Linked DNA regions of Homo sapiens: region 1 is linked to region 2. Evidence: promoter capture Hi-C in human tissues and cell types (Jung and others, 2019). All regions are on one chromosome and are shown on one strand. Each heading gives the region's core, a stretch centred on a gene start or on the middle of the fragment in contact. The rest is flanking DNA. Distances are from core to core; before and after follow the strand shown.

Region 1 (5,042 bases), core at 1,082-3,581, 520 kb after region 2:
ATCTTTATACTCATCCTTCACATGGGTGGGTGGGGAATATAAAGAAAGAGAAGGAACTGTTGTGACTTTTGGTGACATGTTTTTCCTCCATCACAGGATTCGCCCGTCCTTCCAGTTGGAGAGTTCTCGGAGCCATTTGTACATTTCATCACTCAGTGGTGAGCCCGTTTACAAACATGCCATGCCCTCAATGTAAATGATACATGCCATTAACTCGGCAGCTCCGTGAGACCTTATGGCTCTCCCTGCATCCTTTTGGAGACAGGAGGGACTTCGGGGCCTTGGGCAGATGGGGCAGCAAAGCTGAAGAAATTGTTTAAATTATGTAAACGTTATTTACACAAAGGGTCATAAGCATACTTCAGAGCCTTTTTCCTGATTTAATAAACTGCTGAAAGTCATGATACTTCTTTAAGCACAAATACTGTTGCCATCCTTTTTTAAAAAAAGAAATACACAATTTTATAGCCCCTACTGAACGGACGTACGAAGCTTATTTTTATTAATGTAACCTCAAGTTACCCATAAAACTGTCTTGTCACTTAGTGGAAGCAGCATAGTTTATTAATTCATCGGATTTTCAGTAAATAACTTTTATCTTTGGTTGTATTTTAAATACAATACTGGGGTACCATTTCAATGAATTTTGACATTTGGAAGACTATGAAAACAGTTCAGCCCACTTTAACCCTTAAAGAACTGAGAGGAGCCACAGGGGCCCTCAGAGCCTCTAGGCAATTCCTTGTCATTTTATATCTGAAGAAACAAGCATTTTACTGCCAAGGGTTCTTTGCCAGCCTTCTGCCTTTTTCCTCCTAGCAGAACGCAGATGTCTTTTATTACCCCTTTCACCATCATTCCCCTCTTCCCTCGTCCTGCAGGACTCATGTGGCCTTGGGAGGCCCAGGTATTCCTCTGCCCTCTCCCTCACTCCAGCACAGAGAATTACCTAGGAGAGAGGAGGAATTCAGGAACATAGGAATCATTGTCCTCAAAGCAGGAGACAAAACCAACCGCAACTCCTTCTTAACTACGTTGGTCTTCTTTCCCTCCTTCACCAAAGTCCAGAGTCATGTCCACTGGTGGAAAATGAATGGGCAGACCCTACCAGAAGAAACCCTTGGTTCTGTGGTGTGGCAAAGTAATGTTATCAGGATTCTTGCTAACCAAAATCGTTGTGTGCCATCCCCTTCCCCTCCCACTATGATCTGTCCGATGATTATGCTAAAGGGAAACCAAGAAATATTCCTTAATATAAATGTCAAGCTTTATCACCTTTTTGACTAAGTGTAACATGTTACCTCTTAATAAAAATGTCTCATGCAGTTTATATTCCATAGAAAATATATGTGAGGAAGAAATTTTTCTCCCCAATTAAAAAAATTTTATTAACACTGTTTCTATTTATTTAAAATACTTATATAATATTGTGTAGCTTTTAAAAACTATTTTTACTCTGAAAACATTTTATTTCCAAAGCATGCCATGTCGGAAAAAAGCATACATGTTGATTAAACACTGGAATCCTGAGCTGTTTTGAAGCTCCTTAATGATGTTAGAACCATTACCCAGAAATGTATATCCCTCTTAATTTCCTTTACATGGAATTCTTAAAACACATGGTAATGTGTACCATGTGTTTTACACATGGTAATGTGTACCATGTGTTTTACACATGGTAATGTGTACCATGTGTTTTACACATGGTAATGCCTCATTTTGAAATGCAAAAATTGAAACACAAACCATGCGATTCCTCTACTGCCTGGAGCGCCTGGTTTGGGCATCACCCTCTCTGCTCCGGAGGAGATGTTGGATTTGTGACAGGATCCCAGTGCTAATCTTATCTCGCTGTGTGGTCTGAGACCAACCTGGGGGTGGGGCTGGTCTGAGCAGCAGGGAGAAAAGTGGATAAGGCTTCACCTCCCTCCTGTCCAAAAAATTAATCAGCTGTTATTTAAAAGTTTTATGGAGACAGAGGGAGGGATAACCTGCATTCAAATTTCCACAGATGTCAAGCCAAAACAGAAATGATAGTGGGTAATAGCCTTGTTTTCCCAAGAGATACAGCTACTTTGGAATGTCAGATTAGGACTGTTACCAACTCCACTGGCGAGACAGCTTGAATTAGTTGCTAATGGATGCAGTGTTTGAGAGGTGCATATGGTTATTTATAGGGAAGGCAAATGTCCTCGATGTCATTAATGGTTCATAACTCCGATTCTTGTTTACCAAATGATCATTAAATCTATTTTTAAAAAAGTATTGTCAGCAAATGCAGAGATTATAAGAAGAGTTTTCTTCTTGCTTGTTAGAAGAGTGCCTTATAAAGAAAAAAGCATCCGTGTGATTTTTCCAAGTGATAGAAGCAGCAATCTCTTTTCATGACTATCCCATGGACACTCTGAGTTTAGAACAAATACAGCCATCAAGTAGGCAGCTGCCCACAGTCACCTCCATCCCATGTGTGAGTGCTTCATCACATAGCTAAGTACATGTTACAGCTACTAATTATATCTATTGCATGGAAGACAAGAAATATTTTGCATGAAGAATGTGATTCTTTAAGCAGCTTAAACAAATTTAGCTGTCCCACAGCGGTTTAATGAATTATCAACTTGCCTTGTTGCCAAAACAAATGCAAGTCAAGATAATCTATAGCAACACACTTCTAATTTTGTAGCATTATCTAGATTCCTGACCTGTTTTATATACTTCTTGTCATTCGGAGTAACAGTGAAAGAATGAGATGTATTCTCATTTGACTCTACAGTCATGTTTCTTTCCTTACTGTCTTATCCCAATTACCAAAAAAAAAGGTATATTCTCTAAATATAAGTTTGAAATAAATTGATAATTGAGTCAATAAGAGAATATTGCTGCTTTTTTCACATTCGCTTCAAAAGTAGAATTAGGATACATTTAATTTAAATTCATTCTTTATTTGTGTTGCAAAATATTTTTTAAGTGAAAAAGTAAGAAAAAGCTTTTTGTTTCTTACTCATAATGTCCCCCAGAAATCTGACTAAGTAAAGACCAAAATAAAAGAAAGGGAATATATGCTAATACTTTGGCCAAGAATTGAACATGATGTATTTTGAAAACATTCAAATTCCAGTACAAATAGCCATTGGTAGAAATTATAGCAAAAATATACAAATGACACAGATAACATAAGGGGTTTTTTTCTCTCCACTATAGTATGCGAAAACAGCCAAAAGAAAGGCCAGCACCTGAAGAATTGATGGTAAGTGAATGTTTTTAGTTACATTAGAATTCTCAGTTATATATTTATGTTTAACATTCTGTTTAAAAGTCCAGAATGGAATTTGAAACAGCCATAGGCTCTGAAAAGGCAACATTATTTACTTCATTTGGGTAGATGTTTTTGAAGCTCATATCCTCAGATAATAGTGTTTACTTTTTAAAAACCCACCACCTTTTTGAAAGTTAATGCAGAGCTCTTTTCATTTGCCTCATCAAGGGTCACAAACTTAATGTAGGTTACTCTTTATCCTCATTTGCTATTAAACCTTTTAGAATTCAGAGGATTGGTAACAGAAGATCATCAGTGCAATAAGTTTTTAGTGCAATTCTGCAGAAAATTTCTGAATATGGCATGGAGTCCTCTTAGATTCATGTAGAATGAAATTAAACTGGCTGCAAAAGATCAAGTTAATGTGAATCTTTGGTCTTTCCTCAGAAAGAGACAGCTACAAGGCTGCGAGTGCTGTGTTCTCAGCTCCAAGGCAGCTTTCTTTGATTGCAAATGACAGTTTTTAGTCAAGCAGGGAGAGGAACAGAGATGCTCCCTAACAATTCCCAAATGGTCATTTGTTTAGTGCAGATTGTTGATTTGACAATGCACAAGCTGTTAGAATAACGTTAGGATCGAGCATTAGTAAATAATAATTATAGTCTATTCTTTCTAATGTTTTGCATACCATTCCCTGCCTTTAGATTACTACAGTCAGAGCAAATTCCTACCAATTTTCTTTCACCTTCTTTAAACAATATGCATTTTACAGATACCAGTTTAGAGGTTTTCGTCCTTTGTATTCCAACCTAATAAACAGTTTCAGTGCCCCAACTTCTTTATAATATGGATTTCATCCTTGAATATAAAATAACAGTACGTTTCCTTTTTGCATCATGAATGCTTTCCAGGAAGGTACTTTCCTCCTTCATGTTCCCTGGAGCAAAATCTCAGTTTTCAGGGTAGTTTCAAGTTAAAGATCACCCCTAAAAACCTCTGCAATTTATAACTCTGCAGGTTTCATGTCTAGAATAAACTGGTCTCTTTTTTTGGTCTCTGTGATGGTTGGGAAATTCTTGCAGTTAGTCACATTTGAGAAAACTTGGAACAGGTTCTAGAGATGGAGACCCATTTACCTTGTGCATTATTATGCTATGGCTGGATAGCTCAGCTGTTAAAACAAAGGAATAGGGTTTCATAAAACAGATATTTGTTTGTAAATGCATGTTTCAATGCTGCAATGAGTTGGCCACTTATAAATAAAACATCTGCAGATCACACATACGCCCATAAATGTATATGGATGTATATGTTGGTAAGGAACACCACTCCAGGGTGGCACATCATAAAGACAAGGCTAAAGGGTGAGTACTTTCAGTGCCTTGAAAGCAAGTGATGTGTGTGTATGTGTGTGTGTGTGTGTGTGTGTGTGTGTGTGTGTGAGAGAACATAGGTATTTAGATATATCTCTTTACAACTCTATACCCTGTTGTGTGCTGTCCCACATTTTAAATTAATAAATATCAATAAATCAATAAAATACAATGAAAAATGTTGTCACAGGAAGCACCATTCCATACTTAATTTAACATTATTTCTAGTACTGCTCACTGTTTGATTTTAAATGAATGCATTCCCAGAGGTATAGCAGTGGTGAGGCACCACTGCTTTGGCAGGGCTCAGTGAGGAGGCAGGGAACAATAGACTATATGTGAAGCTGCTGTGGTCAGAGAGTGAGCCCTGCCTGGACTTTGGGCAAAAGATTGGGCCCAATAGGGGATGGGAA
Region 2 (5,251 bases), core at 770-3,269:
AAGAAAAAAGAGGAAGGAAGGAAGAAAAGAAGGAAGAAAGGAGGGAAGGGAGAAAATAGGAAGGAGCACTGCTTAAAGGTAAGAAAATGGCCTAATTAGACCAGTTAGTAACCACTTAGTTAAATGCTATAATTAAGCTTTTACCCTAGCAAGGAACTTTCTAAGTGATCACAAATGATAACTAAGTCATATAATATCTGCACTGAAGGGACATCTTACCTAATTCTGTCATTTGACAGGTGTAGCAAAGAAATTATAATTATACAATGCTTTACAGTTTACAAAGTGTGTTCAAAATGTCACATCATCTGTCCTTCAAATACTCCTGAAATAGGCTCATATGCCCCATTTTAAGGATCAGGAAATTGAGGGTTACAGAGATAGTAATGTGCCTTAATAATAATGTCTATGATTTATCAAATGTTTACTATGTGCCAGACTCGGGGATAAGCACAATCTTGCGAAAATTATCCCTATTTTATAGATAGAAGGTGAAGGGGCCGGGCGCGGTGGTGACTCACACCTGTAATCCCAGCACTTTGGGTGGCAAAGGCAGGCAGATCACTTGAGCCCGGGAGTTCCAGACCAGCCTGGGCAACATGGCCAAACCCCGTATGACGGGGGGGGGGGGGGGCAATTAGCCGGGCGTGGTGGCACACACCTGTAGTCCCAGATACTTGGGAGGCTGAGGTAGGGGGATGGCTTGAGCCCAGGAGGCAGAGGTTGCAGTGAGCCGAGATAACGCCACTGCACTACAGCCTGGGCAGCAGAGTGAGACCCTATCTCAAAACAAAAATAAAAAAAAGGAGAGAAAAGAGAAAGTGAAGGGTAGCCAGGCACAGTGGCTCACGCCTGTAATCTCAGCACTTAGGGCGGCCAAGACAGGAGGATCACTTGAAACCACGAGTTGGAGACCAGCCTGAGCAACATAGCAAGACTCTGGCTCTACAAAAAATAAAAAAATTAGCCAGGGTTCGTGGTGTGAGCCTGCAGTCCCAGTTGCTCGGGAGACTGAGGCAGGAGGATCGCTTGAGCCCAGGAGTTCGAGGCTGAAGTGAGCTATGATCGCATCACTGCACTCCAGCCCGGGCGACAGAGCAAGTTCCCGTCTCTTTAAAAAAAAAAAAAGAAAAGAAGGAAGGAATGTAGGTAGGTTAGGTGACTTGCTCGAGATCATACAGCTAAGTCACTGCTCTGATTCTAAGCCATACACTTAAAACAGAAGTCTTGAGTTACCTATAATTCAACTTCACAGAGCCCTTTAGTAGAGTTGGCTTATTATCCAGTCCCATGTTCTCTCTTTTAAGAGTTAGTAAGTCTGACAGCCATTATGAGGGTCTACAAGCAAAAGCACTAGCCCAATCATACCCAAAAACTCATGTTGGCGGAGAGCCCATGCCTCAGATGAAAGGCGTGAATAACTAGAGTGGAGCGGACAAAGCTAACAAGTCTTATAATGTACACATTAAGAAGCAGAATAAACTTCAGAGTAAATACGCAGAATAAACTTCAGAATTCAGAGTAAACACTCTCTCCCGGAGCAGCAAGGATAACAACATCACGATATCAACAATTCCAGCACCTTACACTCCTGTAACCTAGCGCAATTTCCGGAGAGCCTTCAGGTTCATCTCAACGGATCCTCGCAAAAACCTGTGGCCTGGGCTGAGCAGAGCGGGAAATCAGTCTCACTTTACACAGGAAGCCGAAAGGAACGCCGAAGAAGGCCGAGTGGGCAGAAAAGCACGAGATTAAGAGATAGGGGCAGCCACCTGGGGAGACTGGGCGCCTCCACTGACTGGAGGAAGAACGCAGGGCCCGCTGCGGGGACAAGGCCCAGAGAGGCCGTGGTGCTGGGTCCGTCGCCCGCTGAGGCTCAGGGGCCTTGGAGGTCGGCCCAGGCGCCTATCTACTCACGTTGGACCAGCTGGTCTCCTGAGAAGACGGAGGAGCAGCTGGTGACTAACGCACAGGGTACGCCAGCAGCCATAGCTGCGCTCGCGAGCCGGTTCCGTCAGGCAGCCGCTTCCGCCTTGGGCTGCACCACGGCCGCCGGCGCGAGGGGGAGACAGGCCGGAGAGGGCGTTCTCGGAATGACCAGGCTGGCCTGACCCCGCCCCTAGACCCCCTTCCGCTCCCAGCGTGGAACAGGCCAGGTCGCGCGCGGTGTTGCCATGGGGACGAGCGGCTCCGGCTGAAGGTTTCCGTGCTTGGAAACCGCGCCTCCGCGGAGGTAGCCGTTCCCTGACCTAGCCATGGCACAGAACACTGAAAACCACGACCCTGTCGGATCCATCTTAATCCAGGTGGGAAACGGGCTTCCCCCGGCCCTGCCCTGCCCAGCCGCGCCACTTCCGAGCGAGGTCCCGCGCGCCGATTCACCGACGCTCACCCATTTGGTGCGCCGCCCCTAGACTCCCTCCAACTCGCGAGAGGCTCCCAAAAATGCCCACCCAGACCTTCCCCCACGGCCCAGCACACTCCCGGTGACTTACCCTGTAGGTTACGCCCCAGAAGCAGGACTTTCTGCCTCTGGGAAAACTCTAAAACCGTTCACCCGGAACCTTTACTTCAGAAAAATTAACCTCACGCTGAGGCATCATTTTTAAATGTTATATTCTGAAAAATTTGAACCCATGACGTCGGGAGTGGAGGAGAGACAAATCGGACACTCTAGGAGGTGATAAGAAATTTGGAGACAAATTGAAATATGTGAATTGCTTTTCTTAAACACCCCAGTTTTTTAGATCTAAATGTTCCTCATTGGAGAACACACAGAAAAATCAAGATAACTTGGAATGAAAAAATGTGACATTTAAAAACTTAGTGAAAGACCTTTTTAATTTGAGAGGGGAAATGTCAAGAAAGTCTTGTCCAATACAGCTCAATTTGTAATAGTTGCACTCAGATGTTTCTGAAATGATCATGGCATTTTGTTTTCACATTTATGTGAGGTAACTTTAAGATATTTCCACATATATCATCGGTTTTAACTATCACATATATAATAGCTGCATTTGACTAAGTCTTGAAGTCATTTGTCTAAGGTCACTCTGTCAGGACTGTCACTCAGTTGGTCTGAAGTGGGTCTTACTCGTCAAAGGGATCTAATTTTTCTGGCAGAATTTTGATCTCTTACCTCCCATCTAGGAGAGACTTCCCTAAATGTACCTTTTCCCAAATACAAGCCCCTGAACTCACCAATTTCATAGACTTCCCCATTAAGAATCATACCTAATCTTACCTGATCTTTTCTCACCCTCACTTTCACCATCACGCAGCAATGAGTTTAGCCAAACTGCGAAGTCTGAGGGAACGGTCCACAAAAAACTGCCCTAACTTCAACACTCACTACCTGCAAGTTCAGGGGTCCCCAGAACCACCTCACTTCAGACCAGCTGGGTACAAACTTAGGGGCCCCATCACCACCCTCACATTCAATGATTCACTAGAACTATTCGCAGAGCTCAGGGAAGTGCTGTGCTCACATCTCCAATTTTATTATAGTGAAGGCATACAAATTAATCAGCCAAGGAAAGAGATGAATAGGACAGAGTCCAGGAGGGGTACAAACATAGAGCTTTTGGTCATCTTATCCCTGTGGAGTCATTGACGTCATTACCTGCATTACTTCCTCCCAGCCATGATATGTGACAATATGCATAGAATATTGCAACTAGAGAAGCTTATCTGAGGCTTTGATGTCCAGAGTTTTTACTGGGGCTCAATCTCACACTGCCCTTGTGGTTGACCATTAATCTCCAGCCCCTCCTGAATACTTTTAGTTTCCCGCTGCTCCAGAGGTCTGAGCTGATACAGCGTGGATCAAAACACCCATTATAAATCATGTTGATAGACTGTCTGGTGGCCAAAGCCCACAGACAAAGACACTTCTATCAGGCAGGACATCCCAGGCGCCTAGAGATCACCTCCCAGTAGCCAGGAGCGAAGACTGGACCCCTCTTTGGGTAAGGTTAATTCTTTGCTGCACATACCCACTCTTTTTATAGATTCCAAATAATTAGAACAATAATGGAGACTCTTACCTAGGATACAACATTATAGTAATAGATAACTGTTGACACTGACTTGTGAGATGGGTCAGAAGAGCTAATAGTCATATCCATGTTGATCTGCACCCCTACTTATTTAAAAGGATTCCTGTGGACATATCAAGTAAAGGGCTGTGTAGAGGAAGAGAGCCTACCTGTTAACCAGATTATTAAGACTGATTCCTGTATAGTATAAAATTCTATTCTCTACATGTAGAATATGTATAGTGAGGAAATTTGGAAGACTTTCCCTACTTTCTCAGTGAATCCTGAGAATGTGTGAGTATGTAGCACCACCCAACTGTGCCAACGTGGATTCCACTTCTATTTGGGGCTATGATTTATTTCCCTCAGACAGGCTACCAATAATTAGTGTGTCTAGTGGAAAGCACTTGATAGGGAGTCAGAATACTGAGATCTGACCATGACTTTGACAGTCTCACAAGTAGTGACTTTGAGTTAGGCACTCATCTCTCTGGACCTCACTTTCCTCTTCCATAGGACATATAGTTTGGATTAGGTTCACTTCTGACTTTAAATTGTCCCAATTTCCCCAGGCTACATCATTTACTGTAAAAGTAGACTTCCTTTGTTGTTAGCCTAGGCAATCAAATTGTTTCTGGCAAGTCAGTGACTGAGTGAGTGTGTGTGTGCAATAGACTGTAAAGCAGAGGTACTTTAAATTTCTACTTGCTTCACCCTAATATGGTCAGTTACGTCTGTGTATCAGTCAGATATATTAAACAGCTTTTTAGACCAGTGGTTCTCAAAGGTGTTGTAAGTATTATTTTTTAGCTCCAGTTTACAGAAGACACTTAGGTACAAAGAAGTAAAGCATCTTGCCCATTGTAATACATCCAGTATGTATTGATCCTTAAATAGGCTATGGCATGTTCATGAAGTAATCTTGAAGAAGTGTGATAGTGACTCTGGGAAGTTTCCAATCATGCTTTGTAAATCTTAGAAGCTTTGTTTTTATGCTTCATTAAAATGTGGTATATTCTTAATATATCTTTATAAATACTTGCTTGACCCAAATATTAAATGTTTGTGTAACAAATATTACCTGATCTTATGATTCAAAATTAGCTTTTTAATTAAAATCCAACAATTGTGTGTTAACACAAAAATCCAACAATTGTATGTTAACAATGATCTTGGAAATATGGGAGCTCAATTGACAGTTTGCTATTTTCATT

Evidence for each region. Contacts are between HindIII fragments. The study calls those that stand out against the background at their distance.
Region 1: a contact is called between a fragment that was not itself captured here and the fragment with the promoter of AAGAB in region 2, in 1 of the 25 tissues and cell types used here (IMR-90 fibroblasts).

Annotation. Positions count from the first base shown.
Region 1 is chr15:67,769,506-67,774,547 of GRCh38, forward strand. MAP2K5 (mitogen-activated protein kinase kinase 5) reads left to right here. Exons shown (of 22, transcript NM_145160.3): 20 at 97-158; 21 at 3,202-3,247. Among named protein-coding and RNA genes, the nearest start is that of SKOR1, 53 kb to the right of the region's middle. RefSeq lists an enhancer at 2,002-2,277. The HindIII fragment of the contact is 6,173 bases long and covers 1-5,042 here.
Region 2 is chr15:67,252,642-67,257,892 of GRCh38, forward strand. AAGAB (alpha and gamma adaptin binding protein) reads right to left here and starts at 2,020. Exons shown (of 10, transcript NM_024666.5): 1 at 1,918-2,020. The coding sequence starts at 1,990. IQCH (IQ motif containing H) reads left to right here and starts at 2,145. Exons shown (of 21, transcript NM_001031715.3): 1 at 2,145-2,306. The coding sequence starts at 2,256. RefSeq lists an enhancer at 1,761-2,080. The HindIII fragment of the contact is 6,332 bases long and covers 1-4,352 here.